Regions from separate parts of the Homo sapiens genome. Here regions 2, 3, 4, 5, 6 and 7 are each linked to region 1. Evidence: promoter capture Hi-C in 16 types of primary human blood cells and fetal thymus (Javierre and others, 2016). All regions are on one chromosome and are shown on one strand. The core of a region is centred on a gene start or on the middle of the fragment in contact, and the rest is flanking DNA. Distances in the headings are between cores, read along the strand shown. Region 1 holds the start of SH2D1B (SH2 domain containing 1B). Region 2 overlaps ATF6 (activating transcription factor 6). Region 3 has its middle 4.6 kb from the start of OLFML2B. Region 4 has its middle 23 kb from the start of OLFML2B. Region 5 overlaps NOS1AP (nitric oxide synthase 1 adaptor protein). Region 6 overlaps NOS1AP (nitric oxide synthase 1 adaptor protein). Region 7 overlaps NOS1AP (nitric oxide synthase 1 adaptor protein).

Region 1 (4,405 bases), core at 1,318-3,817:
TTTTCCACTCTTTGTTTATTTTATTTGAGATGGAGAGTCTTTCTCTGTCTCTCAGGCTGGAGTATAATGGCGCGATCTCGGCTCACTGCAACCTCTGCCTCCTGGGTTCAAGCGATTCTCATGCCTCAGCCTCCCAAGTAGCTGGGATACAACTGCACCCACCATGCCTGGCTAATTTTTGTATTTTTAGTAGATGGGGGTTTCATTATGTTGGCCAGGCTGGTCTTGAACTCCTGACCTCAGTGATCAGCCCACCTCAGCCTCCCAAATTGCTAGGATTACAGGCATGAGCCACCGCGCCTGGCCAATATATATTTTTCTTTAAATGGTACTGTTGGATGTAGATATGAGAGAAATAGCCTGTATCTCCAGTACCATTTAAAGAAAGAAATATGTCCCTGTGTATTCTATTAGTAATGACAATCACTTTTGTCTATAATCAGACTTCTGAGCCTATTCCAAGGCCCATTTGTGTACTTCCTTGTAAAATCCAGTTTTAGCAAAGAACCCTACTAAGTCAGTTTGGCAAGGACCCCTCACCCTAGCTATCTGATCACTGTTGGATTCTGATCAGATTCCTCATCCTCCACCATCCCCCAGGCAACATCTGATCACCCGGGCCTGTCTTCAGCTACAATTCTGTTAGGCTGGTTTAGCCAGAATCCACTTTACCCCTGATGTTTCCTCCGAGTAATTTTCTGTCTACCGACAGCCACACTGCTCCTTGGCCATAAATTCCCACTTGTCCATGCTGGATTCAGAGTTGAGTCCAGTCTCTTTTCTGTGCCGCAAGAGCTCATTGCAGTGGTCCCTGTACCTTTGTGATGATCCTGAATAAAGTCTTCCCAACCATAATTTAACAAGTGACATTGAGTAATTTTTTTCTTTAACAAGAGACATTTGGATTTTAATTTCTGTTACAGGTATAATAAAAGGTTCAGTGGTCCCTACTTTACAAAGAGGAACATACATAAAGATAGGAGGTTTCTAGTGATTTCTGTTCAGGATTGCTTTCTAAACTGGGCATAAACAAGTTCCTTCAGCTAGGTCTCTTTGATACTGTGGCCTGGAATTTGTTTTTCTTTTTCTTTTTTTTTTTTTTTTTGAGATGGAGTTTTGCTCTTGTTGCCCAGGCTGGAGTGCAATGGCACAATCTCAGCTCACTGCAACCTCCACCACCCGGGTTCAAGTGATTCTCCTGCCTCAGCCTCCCAAATAGCTGGGATTACAAGCATACGCCACCACACCTGGCTAATTTTGTATTTTTAGTAGAGACGGGGTTTCTTCGTGTTGGTCAGGCTGGTCTCGAACTCCCGACCTCAGGTGATTCACCTGCCTCCGCTTCCCAAAGTGCTGGGATTACAGGAGTGAGCCACTGTGCCCAGCCACTCTTTTTTCTTTTTTTTGGACAGAGTCTCACTCTATTGCCCAGGCTGGAGTGCAGTGGTGCAATCTCAGCTCACTGCAGCCTCTGCCTCCTGGGTTCAAGTGATTCTCCTGTCTCAGCCTCTCAAGTAGCCAGTATTACAGGCACACGCCACCACACCAGGTTAATTTTTGTATTTTTGGTAGAGATGGGGTTTTGCCGTGTTGGCCAGGCTGGTCTCAAACTCCTGACCTCAAGTGATTCACCTGCCTCAGCCTCCCAAAGTGTTGGGATTACAGGCATGAGCCACCATGCCCAGCCTGGAATTTCATGTTTAACTTAGACTCTGGAAATTCCAAATGAGTTTTAACACAAACAAATTATTTGAGAAATTCAGGTCTCTGTTTCTTTACCTATGAAATGGTGACTGCTTATGCTTGCCTTGATAGACTACTAGGATGAAAGGAAATGACGAATATTGAAGTCCTTCACAAATCTAACAAAATGTGAAATATGATTGTATTTATAGTTTACGTATTGCAAGCAGATGCTGCAGAATAAGTGTTTCAGATTGAAATTTCTTGAAGAACCCCTAGCCTTTTCCATACCAAATAAACAGATCTCTGGAGGACAGGACCTCTGACATTTGTACCTTCTTTCCATCCCTCTGTACCCCTGTACTTCCTGCAGCCCTTCCCTTCACCACCACCATGTCCCTCCTGCTGCTGCAGAGTCTGCTTGCAGGGCCTTTACACCAGGGAGAGCAGGCAGATGGAGGAGCATGGACAGATACATTCCTCTCCTGGCAGTGTCCATTACTTCTCATTCTACTCATTGAGACTCCAAAGTCAGAGTGAAATACTGAGGGATATGAATTCCTGTACTGTGTGGCAGCCATTGCCACATTCAACATACGATGTCAGATGTGTGCAAGATGAGGCTACTCACGAGACACAGAGGCACAGGACTCCTGGTATCGACTCGCTGTCTCTTAAAAGAAAGTTGCCATCCACCCCTTCCTTGAGCAGCAAGGTCTCACAGTCTTGCTTGGTCAGACGTCCATGGTAGTAAGGCAGATCCATGGAGAACGCTCTTGTATCCCAGGAAGCCCTGTTGGCCTGAAATTCACCCCCAAGTCAAGGGACAGCTCTGAGGAGAGATGTGTAAGCAGCTGTACCTCCTGTGGAGCTACCTCTTCCTCTAGCGGTCTGTGGGACTCAGCCAGCTTCACAAGATTCAGGAAATGAGGAGGGCGGGGTGATAAAATGACCAACACTTTTCACCCTCTAAATGGCCCACATGTGACTCACAGAAGTAGGTAAAGCACATTTAAACACACAATGGAATCAGTGATGCTCATGGCTAGGGAGGCAATGCTGAAGTCAAGCTTCCTGGAACTGTGTTGCAGCCTTGTATATTACCATGGACTATCATCAACTTCTTTGGCTACTGGTATCCTTTCCAGGAAGCACACCGCTGCTTTTGCTGTAATGGTACCCATTTTCTGCTGAAGTTGCCTAGGATTGGGCTATGCTTAGCTTAGACTGGGTGCTCAAAAACCATTTGGATGCTGAGAGAATTGATATGCTCAGATACAATGGGAAAATTGAAAGGGTGGGATTTCCGTGGATCAAATGACACTAAAAATGGAAGACATTAATGGCAATAAAAAACAGTGGGACACTGTGGATGAGGACAGCCCATTCCATGGCTAAGGCTCCCAGCCACTGGTGAAAAAAGGCCATTTGAACACCCTCAAGCATTGTTCCTTTTGGAGAAAGGGCTGGTGTAGGTGGGAGGGATATCTGGGTATACTCATATATCTACAGAAAATCACTATATATATCTCAAAAATGTTATCTATGAAAATAGAACTATGTGCTAACGATTCATCTTTACTTCTCTTAACTTCTTCTTTTTTTTGTTTTCTTCATCTCCGTAGTACCTGGAGATCTTAACTTCTTCTTAACCTAGATGTTTATTTCACCTTGCTACTTTGCTTACCAGCTGTTTACTCACAGTTGGGTGTATCTTCTATGGAACTTCCTTGTAACAGATCTTTGTTCTTCCTTGGAATTCCCACTCTGCATTTGGCATAGTGCAGTTTCACTGATCAGGGAACTCGTTATCAGACAGATATGCTCTCAAATAGCAACTTTTCTTCTGTGGTTTTGGACAATTCATTATTCAATTCTCTGGAAACTATGGCAGTTGAAGACAGAGTTGTTAATAATGAAAGAAGAAATTTGGTATTTCTTGTGAATAAATTCACAATCGTGGTGTAAAGATGCTTTTTGACATAAGAGAGGAAATAACTGAAAGCATGCTCAGGCTCTTGGTCATCACAGGGGCTTCCTTGCCCTTTTTGCTGTTTCAAAATCCAACCCTCACAATAAAAGAAATGCAAATTACCTGCATGCTGAGATAACAACTCTCACCTATCATATGGGTGAAAATCAAAAGTTTGAAAGCTTATTGGGTTGGTCATGGTGAAAGAAAATAGAATATCTTGTATATCATTAGTTGGAATAAAAAATAGTTACAACTATAGTAAAAGATGGTTTGGCAATATCTTGCAAATTTATGTATGCCTTCACCATCTGATAGAACAATCTCAGTTCTAGAAATCTGTCACAAAACTACACAGGCAGAATTAGAAAATGACTTGTGAATAAGGTAGTATTTTTTAATAGAAAAAGATTACAAACAACTCAAAGACTTGTGAATAGAGGGACAGGTGAATAAACTGTGATTCATGTATACAATGGAATATTACTATAGAATAATAAAATGGGATTGAGGAAGATCTCTATATGCTGATATGCAATAATCTTCAGGATGTATTTTTAGGTGAAAGCAGCAAGATGCACAATAGTATATAGAGTATGGGGGATATAAATAAATATATACATTTATAATATTTGCTCATATTTAAAAAACAAACGAAACACCCACTGGAAGAACAAAACTAAAACTAATTAAAACTAAAAACTTCTGCCTCTAAGAGGAGAGCGGAAACATGCATAGAGGTGAGACTTC
Region 2 (4,405 bases), core at 1,137-3,636, 500 kb before region 1:
ATACCAGCTTTGGTTCCCTGCAGTCTGATTTTTGGGCCTCTTGGTAAACAAGTACTTAAAAACTGTTACCCCAGTTTGCAAACCTTTAATAATTAGAGACAAGGCAGGTTAACTGTAATAATTCGTATGCATGCAAGATATGATTCTTCTTTTTCATAAATCATACCTAGTTTTTAGCTTTCTGCTGCAAAAGTAACTAGTTTGTTAGAAATTTAGTGAAAAGAAAAAGTAGGAGACATTGTGTTCAGAAGATCATGTTTAAAAACAACAATTAGTATGGCATCTGTATCTTAGCAGGAAACTCAGAATTAAGTCTGAGCCTGACCTTAACCCATGACCAGTGGAATCTAAGTTTGTTTATTTTTACAATAGCCTTAATTTGGGGCTTGCAAGTTTTTTGGTTTGTTTTCACATTCAATTTAGAGACCCTGAAGCAGTATTTTAATGATAGGAATTAAGCTATGTATAACTTTCATGGCTTGAAGATCAGCAAATTCTGTTTTTTCTTGGTTATAATGTTATCTTAATCAGAAATGTGTGATCTTTGTGTCTAACAATGCACTTAAAAAAACAAAACAAAAAATTCCCTTGCTGCAATGCTGGAATTCTAACAGAATTTACTCATCTTCTCTCTCCTCCCCAATTTTTAAAAACATGTTCTCATGGAAATGTTGCCTTGAATTACACAAAATACAAGCAGTTACTGGAAATGTTTTCTACACAGTTCTGTTCATGTATATCAATTTCAATTTGTTTTTCACTTTTTAGATTTTTTTCTTAGTTTTGCTGATAATCACACTTCATAATCATATCAACTTTGAACTTTGAAGTTGTGTTGAATTTTTATTGCTCTCAGCTGTATCAGATCCTACTTTTTGATGAGTTATTTCATATAGTAAGTTTGTTGAATGAATGGTGAAACAATGAACACAGGAACAAGAAAAGAAAGCAAAATGCATCAAACTTAGGTTTAGTTTTATCTCCAGTTTAACCATGCTCCCTTAAATGGAAATGCTAATATACTTCTTTTTTTCTTTTTTCTGTAACAGTTCATATGTTTTTGCTAGGAAGAAGAGGAGTTACTGAAAACAGTAGTTAATATCAAAGTCATAAGTCATTTATAATCAGCCTTAGAATGCCTACAGATGTATATACATTTTTCAAAACACTTATACTCTGCCTTTTCTGAAGCCAAGCTTCTCTTGGCTTATTCTTACTTTTAGTACTTGTGTGCTGGAAATTAGAAACCTCAGATGCCCTGCACAGTGTAGGACTATACAATTGTGCTAGGCATGTATTTATAATTCTTTAACTCTTCTACCAAACTGTGTGCTTTTTAAGGGCAAAAACTGTACAACTTCTTTAGCATGCACCTGTCACTTGCAAATAAATGTCTAATTCTGTGGTCCCTTCAAAGGGAGAAGAGGAGGCTAAGCAGGCAAGGCTCTAGGCCTTGGCCCTGCTTCAGTCAGAATCTTTCTTGTACATGTTGATAATTTCTTTCTTCTACAGATAGAAAATTCCTGGGATAAGAATTTTGATGGGAAAAAGAGTTTATTGCCTTTAAAAAAAAAGTTTGAGAATGACTGTTTAGGGGAGATACTCTCAGTATCTTGTGACATTATCTAGTCTAGCCCCCATCATTTTACAGGACTGGAAACTGAAACACAGAAAGGATACGTAGTCTTGTCCAGATTATACAGCTATTTAGTGGCAGAATTAGAATTAAAATCCCTTGTCTTGACTGCTTGACCAGTATTCTTTATAGTGGTGCTACAGCATATGTGTTGTAAAAACCTAGGAGTTTTCCAAGATCACTGCATAGTGCCTGACAACGGTAGACACTCTGTAAATGTGTATTACATTAATGAATGAATGATTCTAAGCTGGTTTGTAGTTAATTAAGCCAACTTCAAATAAAAACTATAATTTTTCATCATCCCAACGAAATATTGACCTCTTAGAAGCCCTGAATTTGGCCTGTTCTAGGACTAAGCCAATTGTTATATATAACAGATTGTTCTTTGTTAATTTTAGGATCACCTGCTGTTACCAGCTACCACCCATAACAAGACCACAAGACCAAAAATGTCAATTGTGTTACCAGCAATAAACATAAATGGTAAGTTGAAATTCTGATGTATGAACAATATGAGATTTCTTTGTTTAACCAGGATTCTCTTCATTAGTTCAAAGACATTTAAAATGTTCAGTTAAATGAGTATATATCCGTACATTATTTCTGAAACATTTTTCCACTGTTTTATTATTTTTAAGATCCATTATTCTTTTAAAAAAAATTACTACATCCCTAAAAGAAAAAGTAGCTTTCTTTTACTTACAAAATTGGAAAAGCTAGCATCTTGACTGCTCTACAGACTTGCATCTGCGACCCTTCTAGTCATAAATGTAGTGTAAGAAGCCCCTGCTGTGTTCTGACAGTGAATTTGTAAATTAGATTTTTGGAACTCAAAGCAGTTTCCTGTGTTACCTAAATGTTGATATCATCCTAGACCATGCCACAGAAGCCTGTTTATGTTTAATTGATAATACTGATGAGTTTGACACTGATAGTATTACTATTGCATTTTGTTATATTACTAGCCCTGGACATTAAACAAAATACAAATAATAATATAATGCACAGATGTTAAGGCATAATATACCTGCTTATAGTTTAGAAGAAAAAAAAAGACAAGCACAAAAATCACTGTACTCCAAAGAGAAAGTCACGTAAGTAATATGTGAGGTACTAAGAAATCTAGTGAAAAGAGATTACTTTCAGCTTGATTCTTCATGGAGAAGTGAAATAACTCACTCCCATTACCAGTTGTGGATTATAAATGAGCACAGTGTATGTTATTGACTAATTGCTTTCTCTGACACATTATATTGAAAATCGGAGAGTTGGCCATCTTTTTCAAGTTTGTGTATCTCACATAATGTAGGTACTAGTAAATTTTCTGTCTGGTAGCAAAAACCTCAGTATATGAAGAAGATGGAAACGAAAAGCCCTTTGAACTAACCTGCAGTCGAACCAGTTCACATTTTGATTGATAAATATAATTAAACCTTCAAATACAATTATAAAACAAAACACTAGAATTTTGGGGGGATTCCAGATAAGTTTCAATAAAATTTAGTCTTTAGGGGAAAAGTGGTATTCATCATACATTTTAAGACCATAGAGGACCTTAGAATTTCATGATCTGTATATAGACAGCTTATTAGAAATGCTTAGGAAGTAACTTCATAGACATAAACATAAATGGGCTTTTTGTTAAAGCATAAAAATTACAATATTTACTTAGCCTTACAAAGACATTCAGAATAAGTTTAAGAAAAACAGTAACATTGAGAAGAACATCTCTTTCTTCAGTAAAGACATACCTTTGAAGTTACTCATGGAATAATCATTTACTACCTGAAGAAGAATATATTCCAAAGTGCATTTTATTACATTCCAAAGAATGTATTTAGGAAGTCTCACTTATACTCAATCTATAGGTACCTAAGTTTCTCTGCCTAAACTAGAATAGACCAAAGGGTCAGCTTATGCTCAGAAAGGCTATTTTCTAAGCTTTATCAAGGCAGAATTCACTTAATTTTGTTCTTCTGATATTGGGTTCTTATGCAAGAGAATGCCTGGTCTTATTTTGTAACAGTGAGCTATCTTTATATTAAGCCAAAACCAACAAGATGCTGTTTGACTATGTTTATCTTGGCCAGGTGACTGATTTTTGAAGAGGAGCCTTTCATGGATTTGGAAAAATCCAGTCATTAGAGGATCATTGTCTTTTTAATCTGTTTCAGACTCTTTGTAAATAGTCTTTTTAAAAACTTCCCTTTTTAGGATAAGTCCTATTAAAAAATCAAAATTCAAATTCAAGAAATATTGATTGAATATATACCGTGTTTCAAGTACCATGCTACATCCTCAGCCTTTTCTCTTAACAGTCTTGCTCTGAGGATACTTCTTAAATTAGAGCCTGATTTTTTCCCCTTCCTCATGTACCTCAAAGTCTGCAGCAGGGCAGGTGGTATCCTTGCTTCCCACTACAACTTTCAAATTATTTCTCCTTCAGTCCCCTTAACATCTTGCAAATCTGTCACATCACACTTTACTCCTCTAACCCTTATTTGTTGCTGCCGTCTACTCCACCTTCACTGACGACTCCTCCACTGCCTCTGTCATCCTGCTGTCTAACTTCAGCATCCGCATAGAGGAGTCATTAGTACTCTAGCCTTTTTTGATCCAGTCATCTTTTATTCCGCGCCACCTCAGCCTCCCATCCATATGGTCATAATCTAGACCTTATCATCATCAACAGCAGCACTCTCTTTGAAATCTCCTTTTCAGGCATCCCACTCTCTGACTGTTACTTACTCTCTTACTTTAAAACTC
Region 3 (4,405 bases), core at 553-3,052, 380 kb before region 1:
CTCTGTATCCATTAGGGTGCATTTGACTGCAAGTGATAGAAAATCCTTCTAGGAATGTCTCAGTCAAATATACATTTATTATCCCACTCTAAGAAGACAAGCTTGGCTGTTTAAAATTTAATTCAGCAACTCAGTGATGTCAGCGAGGACCCAAGCTCTTTCCATTTTCCACTCCATTATTCTTACAGCATTGGCTTTTTGACCTAGTCATAATTGATTTAAGCAAGTCCCAGCTACCCCTGTGCCAGACATTCAATTTCCCAGTCTCCTTTACAGCTAGGGGTAACCACCCGGACAAGATATTTTGCTTCCTGATAAAAGAAACAAATAGGAGAGAGGACCTTTCTGGTGCTACTCTTCCCTCACTTCTTGTCTTTGATTGTGTCTTTGACCACAGTCAAAGTGTTATAGGACCAACAGGTTCTTATGCCCGCTGTGCAGTAACAGACCAATTACACTATGTCAGCAGGGTTTGCAGCAGAGAAAGAATTTGATGATTGCAGGGCACCACGTCAGGAGATGGGAGGAGACCCTTGAATCCATCTCTCCAAGGAGCTCTGGGCTGGCGTTTTAATTTAAGGGGATTGTGGAGAGTGAGTGGCTAAAAAATTGAGGTTATTAATTGGTTGGGCCAAGACGATGGAACAAAGTTCTATCATCAGGATGTGGAAACTGCCTTCTTTGGTGAGTCAGGATCTCATGGGGTCCTTCAAACTAGCTGAGTCAGTAGCTTCATCAGTATGCAGGACCCAAAAGAGTATCTCAAAGGGAAAACATAATGTTTCATAATGTTCAAGTTGTTTTCTATAGAACAGTTAAGGGGCTTTATAATCTTTTAACAGGATCTATGTGATTCTGAGGCAATAGGCACAGAGTAACTATGAGGAAACAGGTCAGAGAGCAAGTAGACCTCACGATTACTGCTGAATGTGCTGTGAACTTGGTTTATTTTCATTTCTTCCCTTTCCTTCTTCCCTGGTTAATTTTATAAAGTTTATAGGGGCTGTTTCAAAAGTGCCAGGAGCTGTGGCAGCCATCTTATGACCATGAGTCCTTTCTCTTATCTAACTAAAATATATTTCCTTTAGGGTCTACTTTTAAAGTCACCTTTTAATGTCCAGTCCTACAGTCCTACACAGAATATGTCTAAGGACTTTCTCACGGAGAGTTTCATTCCTTTCACTTAAAGATAAATAGTTAAGTACTGGCCGGGCATGGTGGCTCACGCCTGCAATCCCAACACTTTGGGAGGCCGAGGCAAGTGGATTACTTGAGGTCAGGAGTTCAAGACTAGCCTGGCCAACATGGCAAAACCCTGTCTCTGTTAAAAATACAAAAATTAGCTGGGCCTGGTGGCACACGCCTGTAATCCCAGTTACTTGGAAAGATAAGGCAGAAGAATCACTTGAACCGGGGAGGCAGAGGTTGCAGTGAGCCGAGATCACACCAATGCACTCCAGCCTGGGCAACAGAGAAAGACTCTGTCAAAAAAAAAAAAAAAAAAAAAAAGGTTAAGTACCTTCTAAATATCCTCTTTCTCAACATCACTAGCCCACTTTCTTCATCTTTTATCTCCATTATATTCAACTGTTTCTCAAACCACATGGCCTTCCAAACTCTTCATTATTTTGGTTATTTTCTCTCTAGAAAGACTCCAGTTTGAGTAGATATTAGAACCTATTGAAACAATTTGTTCTTTTTTTTTCTGGGCACTGTGCTTTTATTAATGCAGCCTAAGATTACCTTAGTTTTGGCAGCCAGATTGCACCAACGACTCACACTGATTTATCTTTTAAGTGTAGTTTTTAAATTTATTTTTGTGTGAATTTTTTACTGGTTTCCTCCATTCTGTGCTTTCCAGCTATGTTCTCTCTTTTTTTTTAATCCAAGTATAGGTGTTTACATTTTTACTGTAACAGTGTGATGATTTTGGTCCATTTTTTCATCCTGTTGAAATATTGCTATTTTTGCTTTTGTCCTGGTTTTGCATAATTTCCAAATTCACTAAGCATAGTTTCTGTCTTAGTTCAAATGATTAATTTTAAAAAGCCATCTTCCTTCAGATAGGGCCATATTCTAGAGCTCTACCTCCATAATAGGAAAAGTCTCTCCTTATTGATGTTAACCGTTTTGGTGTATGACTGTTCAGGCAGTCATGGGTGTTGGTGCCTAGTCCACATGTCTTCATCATGTCTACAAGCATTTCTTGAGAGACTTTTATCACTGTCTTTCAGAAATCAAGATACACTGCTCATGGCATTGCTTCTACCTGCCTGCCTGGCAACCTGAACTGATGATTCTGTGATGAGCTTGGTTTGGCTTTAGCAAATTGGGTTAAGTGCTTTTTACTTGTGTTAAAAAAAAAAAAAACATAGCTGGAAAGCACAGGATAGAGGAAACCGGCATAAAATTCACATAAAAATCCCTGCATCTTTTGCTCAGAGCCTATGAATTCCACGTCACTGGATCCTCGCATCATGGTGTAAAATAAGTCTTGCCCTCCCTGGTTAACAGATGAAGTCATTGAAGCACCAACACAGTGATATGTATGATGGCGACTCTGTACTGAGTGCTTCCCATGTGCCAGGCATCATTTGACGGTCAGAAATCCCCTGAGTCAGTATCATTTCCTCTTACAAATGAGGAAACAGGTTTAGAGACGGACAGACTGTGGAAATGTTCCAAGAACTGGGTCTCAGAAAGCCGTAAGTGTGCCACTTCATCTATCTTAGACCCTGGACCTCACCAGTTGTGGCTGGCTAGCAGGTTGTTGAATTCTGGGGATCCCTCAGCAACCACAACCACCATCCCTCACGAGCCAGTTTGCATCTGGCAAGAGCATCTGTTTTCCCGTTTACCTAGGAGCCTCCTGACTTTGCTCTGAAATGTCTGTCTGTTGAAAATTAAGGCTTCATTTGCCAGGTGGGGCCAAGGTGGCTAGAAATGGCCTGCCACCTTTGTGTGTAATTGAGAAAATGCACCTGCCCCACGGCAGCAGAATCAAAGAGCAAGGCAAAGTCCCACGAGCAACATCATTCTGCCATCTCCTTTCCCTGGCTCGCTGCAGAGTGGGAGCTGTGCCAGGGAACTGCCATAAAAATGCTGGAAAGGAATGATGGAAAGCACAACTGAAAATGAGGTCTTTTTTCCCCTGGTCACCCTGCTTTGCTGCTTTCCTGGCTTCTTATTTTGCCTCTGATCTTCTACATTCTCTCTCTCCTTTAATTCAGTTTAATTCATTTATTGAATATATATATTATGAGCCAGGCACTCTGTGAACTGCTGAATACACAAAGATGAAGATGACAAAAAACCTTTGCCTTCAGGAACTCATGTTATAAAGATTATAAATGTTTGATCCTGGGAAAGGGTACAGAAGAGTATGTTTTTCCTCAAGATATTTTAGCAAAGAAAATAAGTTTTTCCTTCTCTGAATTTCCCCAGTTTTAAGAACAATTTGCATTTCCTCATACGCCAAGCATGGTAATTTCTTTTTATTAAACTAAGCTTTACATAATAAAATTTAAGTTTAAAGCTAATTGAAGTGAAATCCACTCAGGTATTGAGTATAATATCTATGTGCCAGGTCCTGAGTTAGACACTAAAGAAACATGAATGAATAAGACATTAATAATAATTAATTCAAGATAATATTTCAAGGATCTCACAGTCTCCTGAGAGAGACACATAAATGGACAAGTGCCAGACACTGTGGAGGCCCACTGACAGGATGGCCAAGGTAATGGCCACCCAATCCAACTGTCTATGGGAGGAGAGTGGTGTCAGGGTGCTCTGGGGGACCTTCCAGGAGGAGCAGGAGTTTGCCAGGTAAAGGACAATGGTGCCTGAGGGACAGAAGTAGGGAAGTGGGGTCAGGGAAAGAAGGTGTGGAGGAGGAGAGAAGGGCATTCCAGGCCAAGGGGACCACAAGGACTGGGATTTCAAGATATGAAGGTTGTGATGTAGGCAGAGGCTGGAGTGTAAAATACAAGACGAAGAGTGAGAGGAAATGAAGTTAGTGAAAGAGTGAGAGGCCAGGTTGTGGAGGCCTTTACGTGCCATCCCAGAGAGCTAGGAGTATGTCTCACAGGCACTGAGGGGCCATTGACAGATTGGGGGCAAGAGAGTGCCATTGTCAGACTTGCAGATTAGATGAATGACTCAGGTGGTGAAGAGTGGACAGAAGAGAGAAAGGCAGAGCAATGACTGCAATTCCCTGCCTGCAGACCACTTGGCCTCCTGGAATGGCTCTGCCTGAGCCAGAGTCCTGTGCTGAGTGGGTCATTGCTCTGACTCAAAGGGAAGCTCCCTTGCCCTCTATAATTGGTGGTGACTAAAGGAGGGATAGGTAGGCAGAGATTCTGCCTTTCCAAGGAATTTTCCAGGGCTGCTACATGGCACAACT
Region 4 (4,405 bases), core at 795-3,294, 370 kb before region 1:
TGGAAATACATGAGACTTTCCCTCATTTTAAGAACCCTTTAAATGTAATTGCTAAGGCAAAAGCTTAAAAATACAATATATTTTGGGGTATATAACATAAGTAGAAATAAAATACAAGAATAGTGCAAAGGATGGGAGGGGAACATTTTAAGTATACAGTTGTACATTTCTTAAAATATACCTGAAATTGTATAATATTTTGAAAGTAGACTGTGGTGAGTTAAAAATATTGTAAACGCTAAGCAATCCCCTAAAAAATAAGACCAAGAGGTAGCTAATGTATTAGTTTCCTGGAGCTTTCATAACAAACTACCATAAACTGGGCAGCCTGAAACAAGGGAAATTTATTATTTCACTGTTCTAAAACCTAGAAGTCTGAAATCAAGGTGTCGGCAGAACCAAAGTGATTGAAGGCTCTTTCTTGCCTCTCTAGCTCCTGGTGGTTGCCAGCAATCTTTGGCCTTCTTTTGACATTCCTTGGTTTGTAGATGTTTCGCTCCAATTCCTGTCTGCATCAGTGGCATTCTTCTGGGTGTCTTTGTCTCTGTTTTCTCTTCTTATAAGGACACCAGACATTGGATCAGCATCCATCTGAATTCAATATGACTGCATCTTAAACCAATTACTAATGGAGGCTGCAAAGACTTTATTTCCAAATAAGGTTTCATTCTGAGCTTCCAGTGGACATGAATTTTAGGGGACATTATTCAACCCAATATAGCTAACCAACCAAGAGTGGAGAAAACATGGAATCATAAAAAAATTTAATAAATGAGTTGATTATTAGAGAGTAGACAACCTCCTCAGGTATGAAAAACAATATAGTTAAATCTCTATCAATTTTAACTTGGCTAACTAGTTAAAATGCCCAGTTGGTGAGTGGAAGGCATGATTTGTTTATTTATGCCCATCTAGTATCCATTTTCTTCTTTTTTCTTGCTCACAGTGATCCACCTCTGTCTCAGTGATTCATTGGATGGTAACCCAAAATCCTGCTCAGAATTAAGTCATAGTTGGCTTAAACTGCTGGTGTTGGTCCCATTTTCTTGCCAGTCACTTATTTAGAGGTGAGCATTTTTGGCCAATTATTGGCCAATGAAATGTGGTGGACATGACTGAGATTTTTCTGGGAAAAGTTTTTCTTGCCTCTAACGAATACACGTTAGGGGGCCCGGTGTGGTGGCTCACGCCTGTAATCCCAGCACTTTGGGAGGCTGAGGTAGGCAGATCACCTGATGTTGGCAGATCACCCGAGGTCAGGAGTTCGAGACCAGCCTGGCCAACATGGTAAAACCCCATCTCTACCAAAAATACACACACACAAAAATTACCCGGATGTGGTGGCAGGCACCTGTAATCCCAGACACTTAGGGGGGCTGAGGCAGGAGAATCTGTTGAACCTGAGAGGCAGACGTTGCAGTGAGCTGAGATCAAGCCATTGCACTCCAGCCTGGGCAACAAGAGTGAAACTCCATCTCAAAAATAATAATAATAATAATAAAATAAGAAATATGCCTAGGAGAAGCAATCCCTTTCCTATCTCTGAGTATTTTTGTGTTTGAGTGCCATGTTTAGAATTTGAATGGCTGCAGCCATCTTGCTACCAGGAGAACCACAAAGAAGAAGAGTTGGACCTGGTGCATGATACATGGAAATTCCCAACCTCCAAACATCTTATTATAGGGAAAAATACATGCCTTTTTTTGTGAAGGCCAAAATGAATGAGGATTATCTGTTTTTGCTGCTAAAAGTATTCTAATCAATGGAGTAGGTCTACACAAGGCCTGGGTGAATAAGCCCAAATTTTCATTAATCACAACTGTATGAATGGGAGATACTTCCCATTCTAGGACTACACTCATGCATCTTTTGAGGGCCAAGAATGAACCAGAAAACTCCTACCAACATAAAGATGAAGATTGCCTGCCTTTGACAAATGTCTTAAATATTTCATATCTAGTTACGAGTTGTAATTTTTTGTGTTAATTTTCTTTTTTTTAATTTGAGATGGAGTCTTGCTGTGTCGCCAGGCTGGAGTGAAGTGGTGCGATCTCGGCTCACTGCAACCTCCGCCTCCCAAGTTCAAGCAATTCTCCTGCCTCAGCCTCTTGAGTAGCTGGGACTACAGATGCACACCACCACGCCCAGCTAATTTTTGTATTTTTAGTAGAGATGGGGTTTCACCATGTTGGCCAGGATGGTCTCAATTTCTTGACCTCGTGATCCACCTGCCTCGGCCTCCCAAAGTACTGGGATTACAGGCGTGAGCCACTGTTCCTGGCCTGTGTTAATTTTCTTTTTCTTGGTCACATATTTAGCCTACAACTTAACTGTATGGTATGGTGACTGTATCAATCACATATCTTCATATGTAAATGTCTTACAAAACATCTTTTATGTAGGTAATTGTGTAAGAGTAAGATGAGGGTAAATCTGACATTATGATAGTACTGATGTCATAATAAGGAAAAAATTTGATATTTAAATCTTCCAATCAGAATTTTTTAATCTTATATTTTCATTTTGAAAATATTCTAAAAGTCAGATGTAAGGTATTCTAGAACATATAGAATACTTCAGTGAGATTTAAAAGTGCTCATTTACATGTGCATTTATGATTATGTTGTCACCCAGTGATCCCTAAGTGACAGTGCTTGATTTTTAATGTATTGATAATAAAGTTTGATATATCCTAATGTCAAAGTGGCAATTGACCCATGACTGTTATTGTGGTCATGTTAAATTCTTTTAATAGTTTAAGGACAAAACTTTTCTTCTGCAATGATAATTTATGCTGCAACATCATTGAGTCTTCTCTTGGCATAAATGCATTATTCATATTTTTTTAAGGAATTGAAACTCCTGAATATAGTGTTGATGCCTTAAGTGCAGATTATTTTGAATTCAGCTGCGTGTGCTATTGAATGCCTTGGCATGATTCAGTTCTGCCCCCATTTTTCTCTGTCTGAACTACTAAGAAGACTCTATTCCCTGTGACTTCATTGAACTCCACTGGGCTTATATGAAGATGCAAATGCAGACACAAACCTTGAAATATGTGGCAATATTTGATTATATGTTGGTGTTCCAGATGATCCCCAAATATCCTTTTTATTGCTCTTCCTTTTAAAAATGAAACAGAAGCTCAGAAATGTGAACTAATGTTTCGAGGTGGCATAACTACTAAACAGCAGAACCATAATTTGAATTTAGGTATTTTGGCTGCAGTTACAGTGCTTTTCCCATGAGTGTTTCCCAAGGTGATATGCATACTACTGGTGATATATCCGATAATCTTAGGTGATAAGTGGGCAAACATTTTTAACAGTTTTCTAGTTAAATGTTGTTAGAAAATATAATTAATTATACATCAAAACTGCTTCCTCAGATTTTTGCATAGGACAGGGCTAACATAGACAGTGCCACAAAAATCCATCCTAGGACACATAAAACACAAGGTACACTCAGGCAAGTGTATGGATGTTTTCAAATTCCAGTAACTGAACCTTCCATTATATAAATTATTGATGTTAGAGATGATATACATCAGTTACATGGCTTCTCATATAATGAATGCTTGCATCCTTTTCAGTAAAATATTCATCTTTCTTCCATAAGCTCTCAGTTACTTGCAAGATCGGTAAGACTGTTTCTCATATATAATCTATTGCAGCAATAGGAAAAATTACTCACTGATGTAAATACAGGATGTCTTTCCCACCAGAGAATCATATGAATATTTAACAAATCTGCTAAAATTGTCAATCACATTAAGAGCAGCCCAATATATTTTTGACTTTTTCCCCTCAAGATAGGTGGTGACCACAGATGACATTTGTTTTATAGGTGAGTTTAGTGGCCTTTGCAAAAGTCCTCTCTTATCTATTCAAGTTGCAAGAACTTCATGGCTTCCAGAAAGAACTCATCACTCTGTAAAATTATATGCATGATTAAAATTGACTTTGCAAGCTAGCTTATTCCATAGATATATTTGCTCATCTGAAAAACTTGTTTTTCCTCTCAAGGCAAGCTTATGAAAATATATCATGTACAAAACCAAATGCACACAATTCTCACGAAAATGAAATAAGGAATACATGCCATGATTGTGTGGTCTTAGTTTCTTTGTGTTATCTAAATTATCTGGCTCTTTGGATTTCTGAGGTTACCAATAACATCATTTCCTCCTGTATATTCTGTGTGTATATTTACTTTGTGTCCTGTGACTTGTTATATCCATTTATTGGTTCATTTTTTATAGATTCTTCAGGACTTTCTATGTAGATGATCACATTGTCTGAGGATTAAGACAGTTTTATTTCTTTCTTTCCAATCTTGTCTCATTGCATTGCTAAGACATCCAGCATGGTGTTGCATAGAATTGAGAGAAGACTTGTTCCCCATC
Region 5 (4,405 bases), core at 1,129-3,628, 320 kb before region 1:
CTCTCTTTGAGGCGTGGGAGGAGAAAACTTGTGATCTCTGTCTTCCCTTAGTTGTTCATCAATATGTTGTTCAAATGTAACTACACATAAGCAGGATTTATCCATTATTTGTCTTATGTTCTCAAATATTTATACCTTTTGCTGCTCTGTGAAAAAAAATCCTTTAAAGTCTAGTCATTAATTTTACCCTATTGCAGCCAAAAGAGAAGTATTTTGAAAAGCATCAGAACTCTATAGGGTCAAATTCTGCGGAAAGGCAAAGGATAAAAAAGATTTAGTTATGATCTTGGATTTCTGTAGAAATTCAAGCAGGAAGAGGCCTATATGTGCTTGAGAGCCCCAGGGGTTGTCCCAGAAGCCAGGGTCTTGGGCTTAAAAGCCGGCATTGTTGCTGACTGTTTGAGGGCTAACACTTAACCTTGCTGCCTCAGAAACCTAATTTCATGTAACAGTACTTTGCAACCCTGCTGCACCATAGGATCACCTGAGGAACTTATAAAACATGGATACCCACTGCCCCTAGGGATTCTTATTTCATATGTTCAGGCTGGGTTCCTATCATCATTGTAATTTTAAAAGCTCCCAGGTGATTTTGCCATGTGCAGCCATAAGAACTGCTGATGTGTACACAGAATAAGGACATTTGTGAGCAGAACTGGGTTGTTCAGATTATCGAGCCTGATTTATGAGGCCAGAATTTCTTTTTATGGATTGACAATGAGGAACCTAATTGAAAAGAGTTACTGGATATACTTGGGGATACAAAACCAGCACTTATCTCCCTGCAGGTAGGAGGGTGGTGGTGAGGAGGGGGACAGATCTCCATCAGAAGGGTATTTGGGAATGTTTAATGGCAGCAGGCCAAGACGGTTTGAGGTGTGCCCCCAAACAATGGTGATGATTTCCTCTTTGAGGCCAGATTACTCAGTCTGTAGGTCAAAGGCCTCCTCATACTACTAAGCATTTGGCTGGACACTGCTAGCTGTGTGTCCAGACTGTGTGTGTGTGTCCAGGGCTGAGCAGCACCTCCTTCCCCTTCCTGTGGTAACGTCTTTATGAATTATGAATTTATGAATACATACAATCTGGAGACCGATACCTCTTTTGGTATCAGGGATTTTCTCTCCCTCTCGCCATTCTCCTTCCCCTTCATCTCTCTTCCACTCCTTGTGTATTTTGTGTCTCAGACCTGGAATCAATCATTTCTCCAGGAAGACCTGGTATCTTTTAATGCAAAATTGTATTTCAAGACCATTATCTTGGCACCAGGGATGCTAATTTTTATTGAGTTGGCCATTGTCTGTAGGTCTTTTTTGGTGAACAGAGCTGGGAAACTACACATAAGGAAAGAGCAAGGATGAATGTGATAGATGTAAACATACTTGTGTGTTCATACTGATATTTCCAATATCTTAACTACTTCTGTATTTCATCTGATCTTTTGTCCACACTGAGAATTCTGGTTTTCAAATACATAGGGAATAACAGAATCCAATATTCCATAATTACTCACTTGCTTTATCCTACACTACACAATTAGGAATCTCAGAATAGTAGTACAAACACCAGCACCAATTATGATTACTGAAAACAGTCCAAAACCTTTTAAAAAATATGTCATCTGTATCCTTCACCATCTTTTAAAATGGTTATACTGTATTATTGTGATACTCTGAGTAATGGTCCCTCAAAAAGTATTCATGTCTTAATCTCTGGAATCTGTGAACGTTACTTTACATGACAAAGACTTTGTATATGTGATTAAGTTTAGGATCTTGAGATGGTGAGATTATCCTGGATTATCTGGGTGGGCTTTAAATATAGTCACAGTTGTCCTTACAAGAGGGAGGGAGGGGGAGATTACACACAGAAGAGGAAAAGACAGTGTAACCACAGAGGCAGATATTGGAGTGATGTGGCCACAGCCAAGGAAGGCTGGCAGCCTCCAGCAGCTGGAAGAGGCAAGGAATAGTTTCTCCTCTAGAGCCTCTGGAGGCCGTGCAGCCTGCCAACACCTTGATTTAGGCCCAGTGAAACTGACTTCGGACTTCTGTTCACCAGAGTTATAAAAAATAAATTTCTGTTGTCTTAAGCCTGTAGCTTTGTCATAGTTTGTTATAGCAGCCCTAGTTAACTAATACAATCATATAGTCATTACACATTATAATATTTCCTTTTTAACCCTCATTTAGTTTTTAGTTCTTCAATAATTACATATTTAATACTTACTACCAAAACTTACATTCTTGTTTCTAGTCACTTTGATTATCCAAAGTTCTTCTCTAGTATCCTTAGGAAAAGCTTATGGAAACAATATTCCCTGATTTTTTTTTTCTGAATGTTGATAACATTTTATCTATGCTCTTTGTATGCGAAAGGTCAAAACTGCTGAATATTAAATCTGTGGTTGACATTTTTTAAAAAATCTTAAGTGTTATTCCATCTACTTCTGGCATAAAGCTTGTTGTAAATCTGATCTAATTTTTCTTTTCCTTATAATTTGTATACAGTTAAAATTAGATGCTGCCTAAATTATCTTTTGTAAAAAAAAAAAAAGTCTGAGAATTTTACTAGAGTATATGTTGATATTATTCTGAGTCAGTATTCTCAGGTAAACAATATGTTCTTTCAATATCAGGTTTCAAATAGTTTTTTTCCAGGAAAGTTTTCACAGACTACTGTTTTTAGAATTATATTCCTTGCTTTGGTTTTGTTCTTCCGGAACCACTCTTATCCATATGTTGGTTCTTGTTTGCCTATCTTCGATGTTTGTCACTTTCAAATCCCTTTGATCTCTTTCCTATTATTTCTTTTTAATTAAAAAATTTCCCTAAGTTTCAGGCAGTTTTTAGGTTTATTTTTTCTTATATTTCTTCTAGTTTAGTTTTTATCTCTAAAATAGTTTTCTTTTTTTACTTTGCTTTCTTGAGTTTTGTCACTTTATTTCTGAATTTTTCTAATTCTAATTTATGTTGTTCTTTCATGCCTTGCATAATTTAAAGTATTTTTAGCTTATTTAAAAATATGTCTTTTTGGCATGCTTTCACTATCACATATTTCTAAGGATGTTATTTTGTTCCTTATTCTCTCTTTTTTTATAGAAATGTTTATGGATTTGACCTTGTTACTTTTCTGTTGTTAATTTTTATGTAAACTTAGTTTTCCTGAATTTTAAAAAGGAGGGTTGGTTTGGTAGTATTTCTAACTGCACAGAGAAATGGAGATTTAAAAATCTCTTGTTTTCATGGAGATTTAAAAAATGTGGTAGTTCTGTTTCCATCTCTCTCTTTTACCTGAGCCTTCTCTTTTCTTTGTCTCTGTTGCCTGTCCTGCTTCATTTTGATTCTGTTCCCAGCAGTTTCTCTTGGTGTGGAGTCCTGTCCTGGGCAATCAGTTTTGAGAGTTCCTAGTGGCTTGAGTGCTCCAGCCCTTCGAACCTCCTGTGGGTCCCCTGTTGTTCCAGGTTCAGCGGCAGTTCTCCAGTTTACCCTATTGGCTCTTTTGGGTTCAGGTTCATCATATGCCCCATTGCTTCCCTTTGATTGTTCCCACATAGACATCAATATCATACTGGCTATTGGTGATTTGTCTCCGATAACTTGTCACCAAATTTTGTTGAGTGTCATCCATGAGTTTTTAAATTTGCTATTTAGTTGCTCTGTTTATTTTTTGTAGAGACTGTGGAAGACTCAATAAATATATTGCCACCATTTTCCCAGAATTGGGATATTGCTTTTAATTTTCACTACAGTGTGGCAAGTTGCTGACTGAGATTTTAAGTTATTTTTCCCCCATGGAGCAGCAAAACATATAAAGATTTGAGAACATAGGATAAGGAATGAATAAATCCTGCTTATGTGTAATTACATTTGAGCAACATGTTGATGAACAGCTAAGGGAAGACAGAGATCACAAGTTTCCTCCTCCCACTCCTCAAAGAGAGAGGGCACTTTACACAGCCCAGGAGCATGTGGAGTGCTGTGCAGTCTTGCTGTGTTCTGGCTGTTTGCTCTAATTGATCTGTCAACCACTACGTGGGCATTAAGTAATTGGGATGTGACTTCACTGGGGCAAGGTGGGGTGGTCTGCAGAATATACAGGAAGAATCAAATATAGAATCACGGAGTGCTGGAGTTGGAAGGGACCTCAGAGATCACCTCTGAGATTAGGTCCTAAATCAGCTCTGTTATTTTGCAGATGAGGGGGACTGAAGTACAAAGAGATGAAAGTGACTAGTTCAAGGCTGTGGATCCAACAAAGGATGGGATTGGCATTGCAGCTTGTCCTGAACTCTCCCAGGCCACATTCCAGTCTCTCAAACCCCAGCTTCCCTGTTGAGTAATGAGTAAACAGACTATTGTAAAACGAAGAGGACTTTTATAGAGTAAATTGAAGGGTATTCATT
Region 6 (4,405 bases), core at 814-3,313, 300 kb before region 1:
GAAAATGATTTTGGCGTCTTAAACGGCATCAAGTAGAAGCAACATCAACAGTGTGGCCTTATTACCAAAAAAGTTGCTGCAGTCAGAGGCTTTCCTGAAGGATGACATACAGAGAGGTCAATGCCTGCCAAATACAAGGAGAATATTTCTGGCCAAAAATGGAATAGATGTCTTGGAATGCTGATGTAGTCCCTCACAGTCATCGAGAAGCTGCTCTGCCCCTGGTCAGGAATATTGCAGAAATGAGTCAAGCCGGGTTAGTGTTGGAAGAAGAGTTGGACTAGCTCATCTCTGTGGGCTTTCCAACCTGCAGTCCTCAGGGCCTCATTGCCAGGGTGGCAGTCCATGGCAGTGGTGGTTGGTAACAATTTATGGGAGATGAAATATTCAAACCCAAATTATGTTCCTAACTGGTTTACCGCTCAGGCCAGTGCTCCTTCGTGCTCCGACTCTTCTCACTGTTCTGCAGCCTGTGGTCACTGAGTTGCTCTGGGATCCCTATTATTTTTATTGGTACCTTATTTAATGCAGCTCTACATTTTCTAGCTAACTGGTACCATCTGTCTGTAATCACACTTCTCAGATCTGCCTCCTTGTCATCAGCCTACCTCCCTCTCTGATGGTTGGGAACTAGTTGTATTCTCCGAAGACTTGCTGTACTTTAACATTTTTACTTGGCATGGCCAACAAAAGTACCATATATTGTCTGTGGAAGCCAACAAAAGAAGGCTTGGAAAAGAAGGCTTGAGTTGTCATCTCACGTTAAGAGCATCCTGGCCTCTAGTGGAGGGTATACAAGAGTTGGCTCTAGGTTCTGATTCCTTTGTTACTGGGCTTTGACTGTGTAGCCTTGGCCCCCTCTTCAAACCCCTCTGGGTTCCAATTGGTTTATCTCTAAACAAGTTGAAGGGATTAGACCAATGGCTCCCTGGAGGGCCCATCCTGCTGTCAGATCATTCAAAGATGTTCATTGCCAGTTCTTTGCACCATGAGGAACATATTTGGACTTTTAGACAGGCTCTGACTTCTCAGAGCTTGCAGTCCAAGACATTCTGACATGGATGCACATTTAAAAGACAGACACTTTATAGATAGATTATTGATCAATTTTGCCACTAGTGTGAAGCTGTCACTTCTGAAAAAGGGATATGTTTTTCCTTCTCACTTTTACTGCTTTGGTTAAATCATTTGCCCTAAGAACTCCCTCAAATATAGATGTGCATATGCCATAGACTGAGTATATTAGCATTATAAGCATGTCAATGCCATAATAGCACCTTTTTGCATAAATTTATGTTCTTTATAACAACTTTATGGGGTGAATTGCTTTAGTCTGCAATAAAAAGATATGGGAATTCAGAGAGGTGAAATTTCCCTCTAAAGCTTCTGAGCTCCTTCATTATGCCTGGCTTCAGTGCCTGTGCTTTGTTTGCAGTTCTGGGCTGCATCTCTGAATAGGTATATTAGGTCAGTGGGTATATCAGGCAGAGGGTGGTGGGGATAGGGGGTTACTGAGGGAGTTAAGTTGACAGGATCAGAGATGAGGATCCCTGGTTTCTAGAGAGGAGGCTGAGGGGAAGCCTACACCTCTTCTCCTGATAATCCTGGCAGGAGGTGGAGCATGAGTCTGACAGCAAGCAGGTTATGGGGGATGTTGGTTCCCATAGTAAGCACAATTGTTGGAGCATTACTGGAGGCAGTCCAGGCATGACTTGGTTGTTAGGACGTCCACACCTCAAGCCTGCAGAAGTGTGTCTGGCGGCCCAGTGGGGTCCTGGCAGCCCCACAGTGGAATGTGTTGTCGGGCAAAGGCTGCTGATGAGGGCACCTCCTCTAATGAGTCCATTCTTGCATTGTTGTAAAGAAACACCCGAGACTGGGTAGTTTATAAAGAAAAGAGGTTTAATTGGCTCATGATTCTGCAGGCCGTACAGGAAACATGGCAGCATCAGCTAGCCTTCTGGGGAGGCTTCAGGAAACTTATGATCATGGCAGAAGGCAAAGGGGAAGCCAGCACTTTACATGGCCGGAACGGGAGGAAGTGGTGGGGGTAGGGAGGGGTGCCACACACTTTTAAACAACCACATCTTGTGAAAACTCTGTATCACCAGAACAGCACCAAATGGGGAAATCCGCCCCTATGATCCACTACCTCCTGCCAGGCCCCACCTCCCATACTGCGGATTACAATTTGACATATTTGGGAGAGGACACAAATCCAAACCATCTCCTCCTCTTACCTGTCCATCCTTCACCTCTTAGGAAGGAGGGCAGCCACAGTAGAGCACTTGCCTCTAGTTGCTCTTGAGCACCCTTCCTGGGTAAGAGAATTAAAAAAAAAAACAATTTTATGATTCTAAAGGCAGTGTTATTACAGAAAGTTTGAAAACCCAGAATTTATACAGAAAAACACAATAACAACAATGGGAGAATGTTTCCCGTGGTGGTGTGGTAAATATGGCTTCCTTGCTCATTTGTAGTTTCAGTTTAAGGTGGCACAGTGTTTGGATTATAAACAAACACTTAATTTGAATGGAAAGAACTGTGGTGTCTTTCACTCTAAAACCCCAGTGTAGAAAGAGGCCATATTATTTTCCAGCAGGACAAGATCACCCTGTTTAGCTGGTGTATCAGTCAGGGTTCAACCAAAGACGAATAGGGGATATATATATGAAGAGACTTATTGCAAAGAACTGGCTTATGTCTCTGTGGGAGCCGTTAGACAAGTGCAACATCTATAGGGCAAGCTTTCACGCAGAACTCTCAGGCACAAACTGAAGCTGCTGTCCAGAGGCAGAGTTTCTTTTTCAGGGGAACTTCAGCTCTGTCCTTGAGGCCTTTTGACTGATTGAATCAGGCTCACATATATTATCTTGGATGGTTTCCCTAAAAGCCAGCTAATTATGGGCCTTAATCACATCTGCAAAATACTTTCACAGCAATACCTTGATTAGTGTTTGGATAACCAGGGACTGTAACCTAACCAAGTTGACATATACAAAATATCATCACATCTGATAATCTGTCCTCTTTGAAAATTAATCTGGGAAATTGGATGCATCATCTGCCTTGGTTGTCCAGCCCCTCTTTCAACAACCTTCCTTGCTAGGACATAATAAGGGCTAAAGTCAATCCCAGTGGTCTCATCGGGACCTGCCTACCTGCAGCATCGTGTTCTGTCTAGATTTTGTCATATTCACTTGTATTTCTGCTTCCTAGGTATGCTTAAGTCATCGTTTGCGTCTATGTGACCTCTCCCCGTGACTAAATCGGAAGTTGTTGTAGGGGTGGGATGGTATCTCCTGTTGCATTTGTCTGTCCCTTGATGGTCTAAGTGCTGCAAGTGCTCTAAGTGGCTTTTCAGTAAACAGTGACTGATATCCATGAGTTAACTTCAGGTCCCATAATGGCCAAGATTCTTATGTCTCCTTGTTATAGCTCCTCATGGAAGAAGGAGCAGCTTGTTTCATTGCATTTGTTTTTGTTCATTCACTTACAGATTGCCAAGTAAGCATTGTTCTAGGTACTGAGCCTATGGCAGTGAACAAGACAGACAGGATCCCTCCTCTTTTGGAGCTTTACAAAACTAGTAATGGTTGTTAGAGATGTGGTAGAGGGAGAGGAAGGAAACTAATAATAAACAAGTATACAAATTAAACAAGCTAATTTCAGATACTGTAAGTGTATAAGGGAAAATAAAACAGTATACCATGACTCTAAATTGGGTGGTCATTTTCTGACTTCAAATAATGACTCCCTAGCTATGTGATGATGGGTAAATTACTTCACCTCTTTGAGCCTCAGGTGCTCTGTTTTTTTTTTTTTAAAGAAGGTAAGAATCTGTGATGTTTGGGTTCCAGGCCAACTGAACTGGGAGTTGTTGTAGGTTTTTGTGAGGGGATTCTTGGAAGAGGAATTGTCTAGAAATGTAATCTGGGATGGTGAGAGCTTTGCCTCTCAAATGTGGCTTGCAGACCAGCAGCAGGTATCATTGCAGAGCTTTTTAGAAATGCAGACTCTCAGGCCCCTTCCCAGACCCACTGAGTCCAATGTGCGTTTTGCCAACAGCCCCATGTGATTTTTCCGTATAGTTTGAGAAACACTGGAGTGGGAGGTTGAGGGCAAGTTGGAGTAACTCAGGTGTAAAACATTGGTTTCATCTTGAAAACTAGAGGCAGGGAGGAGGAAGAGAATGAATTCAAAGGTCAGTTTTATCCCGGGTGAGGTCAGTCTCTGAACAATTGACTTAAAAGAAACCAACTTATTACCAAGATTGTCAGTTGATCAGATATTTATGGGAGGTATGCAGGTTTTAAATTCTGAGAATTTGTACTGGTCTCTATCTAGGACACATCTCTCTGGGTGCTGAGTCCTCTCACGATGTCAAATACTCAAAGTAGAAGGT
Region 7 (4,405 bases), core at 1,254-3,753, 280 kb before region 1:
CTTCAAGAGCTGTTAAGAGCTTTAGTATTACAGGTGTTGAGCATTCAGCTGCCCTGCTCTGTTTCTCAGGCAGTATCCCTGTGACTATGCTGGCACCTGCTGAAAGCCCTGTTCTTGCCACCTCCCAAGAATAGGAGGAACAGACAAGTACATTAGGCCATCTCTGCTGAGGTTCCCATCAGAGTAAGACTTATTTAAGGCAAGGAAAAGGCTTTTCTAGAGGCTTTTTATAGAGAAGAATGAGACCGCTGAGAAGTCACCTAGTCTAGCATTTTAAAACTTGACTCTGCAGTCAGCCAGGCAGATGACACATCAGTTTTATTAGAATAAAAACTGCTTAGTGTGTACCCTAACATTTGGTGGGTGAATGGATTGTTGATCATCAGAATCATCTAAGGAATTTTAAAAAATGTTACTAATTCTCAGTCCTTACTCTAGACCTAACAGATTTTTTGGATTGGGATCAAGTAGGTCGGGTAGTCCAGATTTGGCATCTACAAATTTAATTCCCTTCCATCTTTTTATGGATAAAAGAAAATTGAAACTTAGGCAAACAGGTTTAGAAAAAAGACTTAGTTGTGAGTGAAACAGAAATGCTTTCCTATTTTCTTACCATTTTCTGCAAATGGAGGAGTTTCCCCTTCAAACTTGTACAGCAGGGGCCAGTGAATATAGTGAAAAGCATGACCCTTTAGAACTACTGCGTATTTTATATTTGATCGAATGTTTGAACGCTTGCTTGTGTTCTGTGCTAGGTGCTAGGTTTCGAGTTTCAAGGAATCTTTAGTCTTGCGGGCTCTCAGTGCAGTAGGAAGCATATATAATAAGCAAATAACTGTATTAAAATAACTTTATTAAATAAGCCTCTTTCCGTGGGAAATCATGGACTTAACTATTCTTGGCCCACATACCTCAACAGCTAATATAATAAAGACCCTAATATCTCTATGCTCCCCTTTCTGCCCTATTGTGGCTTGTCACTTGACACAGAATCAGCTGCATTTTAATAATGCAGCAAGCCACAATAGGACAGAAAGGGGAGCACAGAGATATTAGGGTCTTTATTATATTAGCTGTTGAGGGATGTGGGCCAGGAATAGTTAAGTCTGTGATTTCCCATGGAAAGAGGCTCTCATTTAGATTGGTAAACAGACTGATCCAAAGTGCAATGTCCTTGCAGGGACATTTCCCTGGGAGGTTGGAAAGTATTCAAAGGTGATTTGATTTAGCTGCTGTCCAAGCTCAGCTGAAACAGCCCGTTTTATGGGCCTCTTGGACCATTCTGTGAGCTCCAGTGTTATAAGGCGGCATTTTTTTTTTCTTTTTGGTTGGGAGGATGTGATTAAGATAAAGAGAGGAGGAGAAGGCACCAAGGTAGACAGAAAATGATTTTACATATGGCCTCAGTCAGTATGTCTGGCATTATTCCCTGTACTGCTGTCAAACTTTGGGCAAGTATCTACAGTTCTCTAATCTTTAGGCCTCTTAACTGTGAAACAGAGGTAGCAACCTTGTTTGCTTATTTAATGGGATTGTCACCAGGATCAAATGAGATGTGTGAAAATACTTTGAAACTGTAAACTGCACAGTGAAGGGTCCTTTAAATGACTATCAAGAAATCTATTTGGTGATAATGGCATGTGTGTGTCCCAGACATGTGATTCCTAGGCCTGCCTGGAAGGTGAGCTGAAACATTATGATCACAGTGGAGGATTATGGGAAGTTTCAAAGTACAGTTCCTGGGAGGGTGAAGGACTCCTGACTCTGCCAAATACCGGATGTGCTATACCAAACATAATGCTCCCTCTAACAGAAGTTGATGGCATCCTTGGATTCTTTGGGAAGGTGACGCACATTGGAGGAAATGCAACTCAAATATGCCTCCCCAGGCAAGAGAATCCATAGGAAGAAGCTTGTGATGGGAGGATTTACATCTGGAGAGATTAGAGTAGATGGATACAAAGTGATGCTAGTATGTAAAATAATTTTCTACCCACCTCGATAAGATCCTCATAGGAGAAATGATCTTTGTAGAAAGATAAAGTCAAGAAAAAAATACAGAGATTTCTCCGTGACCTTCAGGTCTAGTGAAACACAGGAGAATTGCCTTTGGACAGGATTATCTGATAAAGTGAGATCACGGCAATCAGATGATTATTATTTAATGATAGCACTTAATAATTGCTCAGCCTAATCTTAGCTCATTAAAGCAATATGGAAAGTAGTAGTAAACTTGGTTTGAAACTGTTATTGGTATAAAATATTTTGATGATGACATAATAGGAATCTATAGCATAGCTTCCCAACCCACAGGTCTCCATATTGATTCCTCCAGCCCTGCAAATCTATGAGTGACCCCTCCCAGGTTCCACACTCCTTCAGTTTTCCCCAGTTACCAGTGTTCTGGGTGCCATGGATAAAGGTCTGTTTCTGAAACCAGAGCTCTCTTCTTGCTGAGATTCTCCACTTTGCCTGCATGTGCCCCAATTTCCTTGTTTGCTCTGGCTCTTCTGTCAGAGCTATACACTTACTTGTCTTTTCTTTTGTGATCTCTTTTGACTTGGCGCCTAATGGAAACTTCTGCATCAGTGAGGTCCAGTGTGATAGTAAATGATGGAATATTGCAATATCACGTGTTGGCTGGGATTTCTGGGTCCATTGCTTCATATCCCATCTGAGTTCATTCTGTAGCAGCCATTTACCTAAAATATTTTCCAGGTGTGTGCTTATTATATTAGTACGCTTAATTTGTCTATATTCTTGGGTTTAATCTTTGAAATTTTGAATTAAACTGTATTAACAAAGACAAGTCATTATTTTATTAGATGCACTGTGTTGGTAATGCTTTCCTAAGTTGCCTCAGAAGATCTTCTAATCTTAACAAATGTTTTGTCATATTTTATCCTTTATCTGTCTTATCTATTGATTCTTGCCTAGGACCAATTATTGTAGATATCATACCCGTCTTGGTTACCATTGTGCCTAAACCCAGATACCATTTATAGTTTTATCTAAAAGTCTATGAATGAAATCATACTCTCTTGCTGTCTTATTATTCTAAAAGTGTGATATTTTATGTGAACTAGATTTTATAACAAGCTTTCCTTTTTATAATCTGGCAGCAGTATAAATTGTTGATGTTTATTCTTCTATCCCTTTTACATGATAGATGAATCTGTTCAATTTTGGCTTTTGAGTGACTCATATGTGGTTAGCATTCTGCTGTGGCATTGGGTGGTCTTTAGCATTTTATTGGACTATTTTATGAAACATCTCCAAAGAAATATGTTGGAACTGGTATTTATTACCTTAATCTTATTGTCTGCCTTGAGAAGCTGCTAACTAAATGTTTTCTCCAGCTTTTCCTTAATTGCAGTGTGGTTAATTCCTCTCAACTGCAGGAAGCCAAGGTATTTATAGATTGTTGTTATTATTTTTTGTGGCCTGTAGAAGTAATCGGCATTCAACGAATGCCAAGAACATGCTTGGCATGAAGTAGTACATAGAATTAGATCCAGTTCCTGCCCCATGAACTTGATGTGAGATAAGCTAACTGGGGAGGAGAGAAGGAAGAGAAGACTTTCCAAAAAATTGTATCTCTTCTAAAATTGGGAGAAAATGAATTTCAGTTTAAAAGGAAACCTTAAGAATTCAATTAATAGGATAAAACACAGGTGAAACAGTCAGTAAAAGCTAAGACACTATTTATGCTAAATTCATGAATCTAAGGAGTGAGCTATAGTAAGCCCTGGTATAATGGATAATTTATCTCAAAGCAAAACTGGGCTGGGCGCAGTGGCTCACACCTGTAATCCCAGCACTTTAGGAGGCCGAGGCAGACAGATCACATGAGGCCAGGAGTTTGAGACCAGCGTGGCCAACATGGCAAACCACCATCTCTACTAAAAATACAAAAATTCCAGGTTTGGAGGTGCATATGTAATTCCAGCTACTGGGGAGGCTGAGGCATGAAAATCGCTTGAACCGGGAGGTGGAGGTTGTACTGAGCTGAGATCACACTACTGCACTCCAGCCTGGAGTGACAGAGGGAGACTTTGTCTAAAAAAAAAAAAAAAAAAAAGTAAAACCGTAGTGCTGTAAATGGGGGAGGAGAGGAAGGAGAGTAGGGAAAAAGTCAAGATGTGGAGATGCATGCATTCAGTGGAAGGATTAAGGAATCCTGAAAATTACCCTGAATTCATCTCCCTCTCCAACAGCCACATCTGATCAGTTTCCAAGTCCTGTCCCTATTATCTCCCAGATATCCTCTCCTCCTATCCCTGATTCTTTTGCTCTGTTTTAGGTCCTTCTTATCTGTCACTGGTCTCTTGTCATGTCCTCTCCAATCTATCATCCATGAAGCAGCCATATAAACCTGATCAAAGTTCGTGGCTCAAAACCCTTA

What was found. The method cuts DNA at HindIII sites, captures the fragments that hold promoters and counts their contacts. A CHiCAGO score of 5 or more calls a contact.
Region 2: a contact is called between a fragment that was not itself captured here and the fragment with the promoter of SH2D1B in region 1, in 1 of 17 cell types (M0 macrophages). The highest score is 7.1, in M0 macrophages.
Region 3: a fragment that was not itself captured here is called in contact with the fragment with the promoter of SH2D1B in region 1 in 5 of 17 cell types (M0 macrophages, M1 macrophages, megakaryocytes and 2 more); the score reaches 7.9 in M0 macrophages.
Region 4: a fragment that was not itself captured here is called in contact with the fragment with the promoter of SH2D1B in region 1 in 7 of 17 cell types (M0 macrophages, M2 macrophages, M1 macrophages and 4 more); the score reaches 20.9 in M0 macrophages.
Region 5: a fragment that was not itself captured here is called in contact with the fragment with the promoter of SH2D1B in region 1 in 4 of 17 cell types (M0 macrophages, erythroblasts, monocytes and 1 more); the score reaches 8.6 in M0 macrophages.
Region 6: a fragment that was not itself captured here is called in contact with the fragment with the promoter of SH2D1B in region 1 in 3 of 17 cell types (M0 macrophages, M1 macrophages and erythroblasts); the score reaches 5.8 in M0 macrophages.
Region 7: a fragment that was not itself captured here is called in contact with the fragment with the promoter of SH2D1B in region 1 in 2 of 17 cell types (M0 macrophages and endothelial precursors); the score reaches 5.4 in M0 macrophages.

The regions. Positions count from the first base shown.
Region 1 is chr1:162,409,569-162,413,973 of GRCh38, forward strand. It overlaps SH2D1B (SH2 domain containing 1B), which reads right to left and starts at 2,568. Exons shown (of 4, transcript NM_053282.5): 1 at 2,315-2,568. The coding sequence starts at 2,448. The HindIII fragment of the contact is 13,514 bases long and covers 1-2,751 here.
Region 2 is chr1:161,910,259-161,914,663 of GRCh38, forward strand. It overlaps ATF6 (activating transcription factor 6), which reads left to right. Exons shown (of 16, transcript NM_007348.4): 15 at 2,038-2,122. Among named protein-coding and RNA genes, the nearest start is that of OLFML2B, 110 kb to the right of the region's middle. The HindIII fragment of the contact is 2,384 bases long and covers 1,195-3,578 here.
Region 3 is chr1:162,026,314-162,030,718 of GRCh38, forward strand. No RefSeq gene overlaps it. Among named protein-coding and RNA genes, the nearest start is that of OLFML2B, 4.6 kb to the left of the region's middle. The HindIII fragment of the contact is 3,406 bases long and covers 100-3,505 here.
Region 4 is chr1:162,044,242-162,048,646 of GRCh38, forward strand. No RefSeq gene overlaps it. Among named protein-coding and RNA genes, the nearest start is that of OLFML2B, 23 kb to the left of the region's middle. The HindIII fragment of the contact is 3,967 bases long and covers 62-4,028 here.
Region 5 is chr1:162,087,827-162,092,231 of GRCh38, forward strand. All of the region lies in intron 1 of NOS1AP (nitric oxide synthase 1 adaptor protein), which reads left to right. Among named protein-coding and RNA genes, the nearest start is that of NOS1AP, 20 kb to the left of the region's middle. RefSeq lists enhancers at 3,567-4,162, 4,163-4,405. The HindIII fragment of the contact is 159 bases long and covers 2,300-2,458 here.
Region 6 is chr1:162,111,586-162,115,990 of GRCh38, forward strand. All of the region lies in intron 1 of NOS1AP (nitric oxide synthase 1 adaptor protein), which reads left to right. It overlaps LOC105371475 (a long non-coding RNA gene), which reads right to left. Exons shown (of 4, transcript XR_007066699.1): 4 at 2,282-2,317. Among named protein-coding and RNA genes, the nearest start is that of MIR4654, 43 kb to the right of the region's middle. The HindIII fragment of the contact is 1,364 bases long and covers 1,382-2,745 here.
Region 7 is chr1:162,130,425-162,134,829 of GRCh38, forward strand. The region is part of intron 1 of NOS1AP (nitric oxide synthase 1 adaptor protein); the gene reads left to right. The region is part of intron 3 of LOC105371475 (a long non-coding RNA gene); the gene reads right to left. Among named protein-coding and RNA genes, the nearest start is that of MIR4654, 24 kb to the right of the region's middle. The HindIII fragment of the contact is 1,187 bases long and covers 1,911-3,097 here.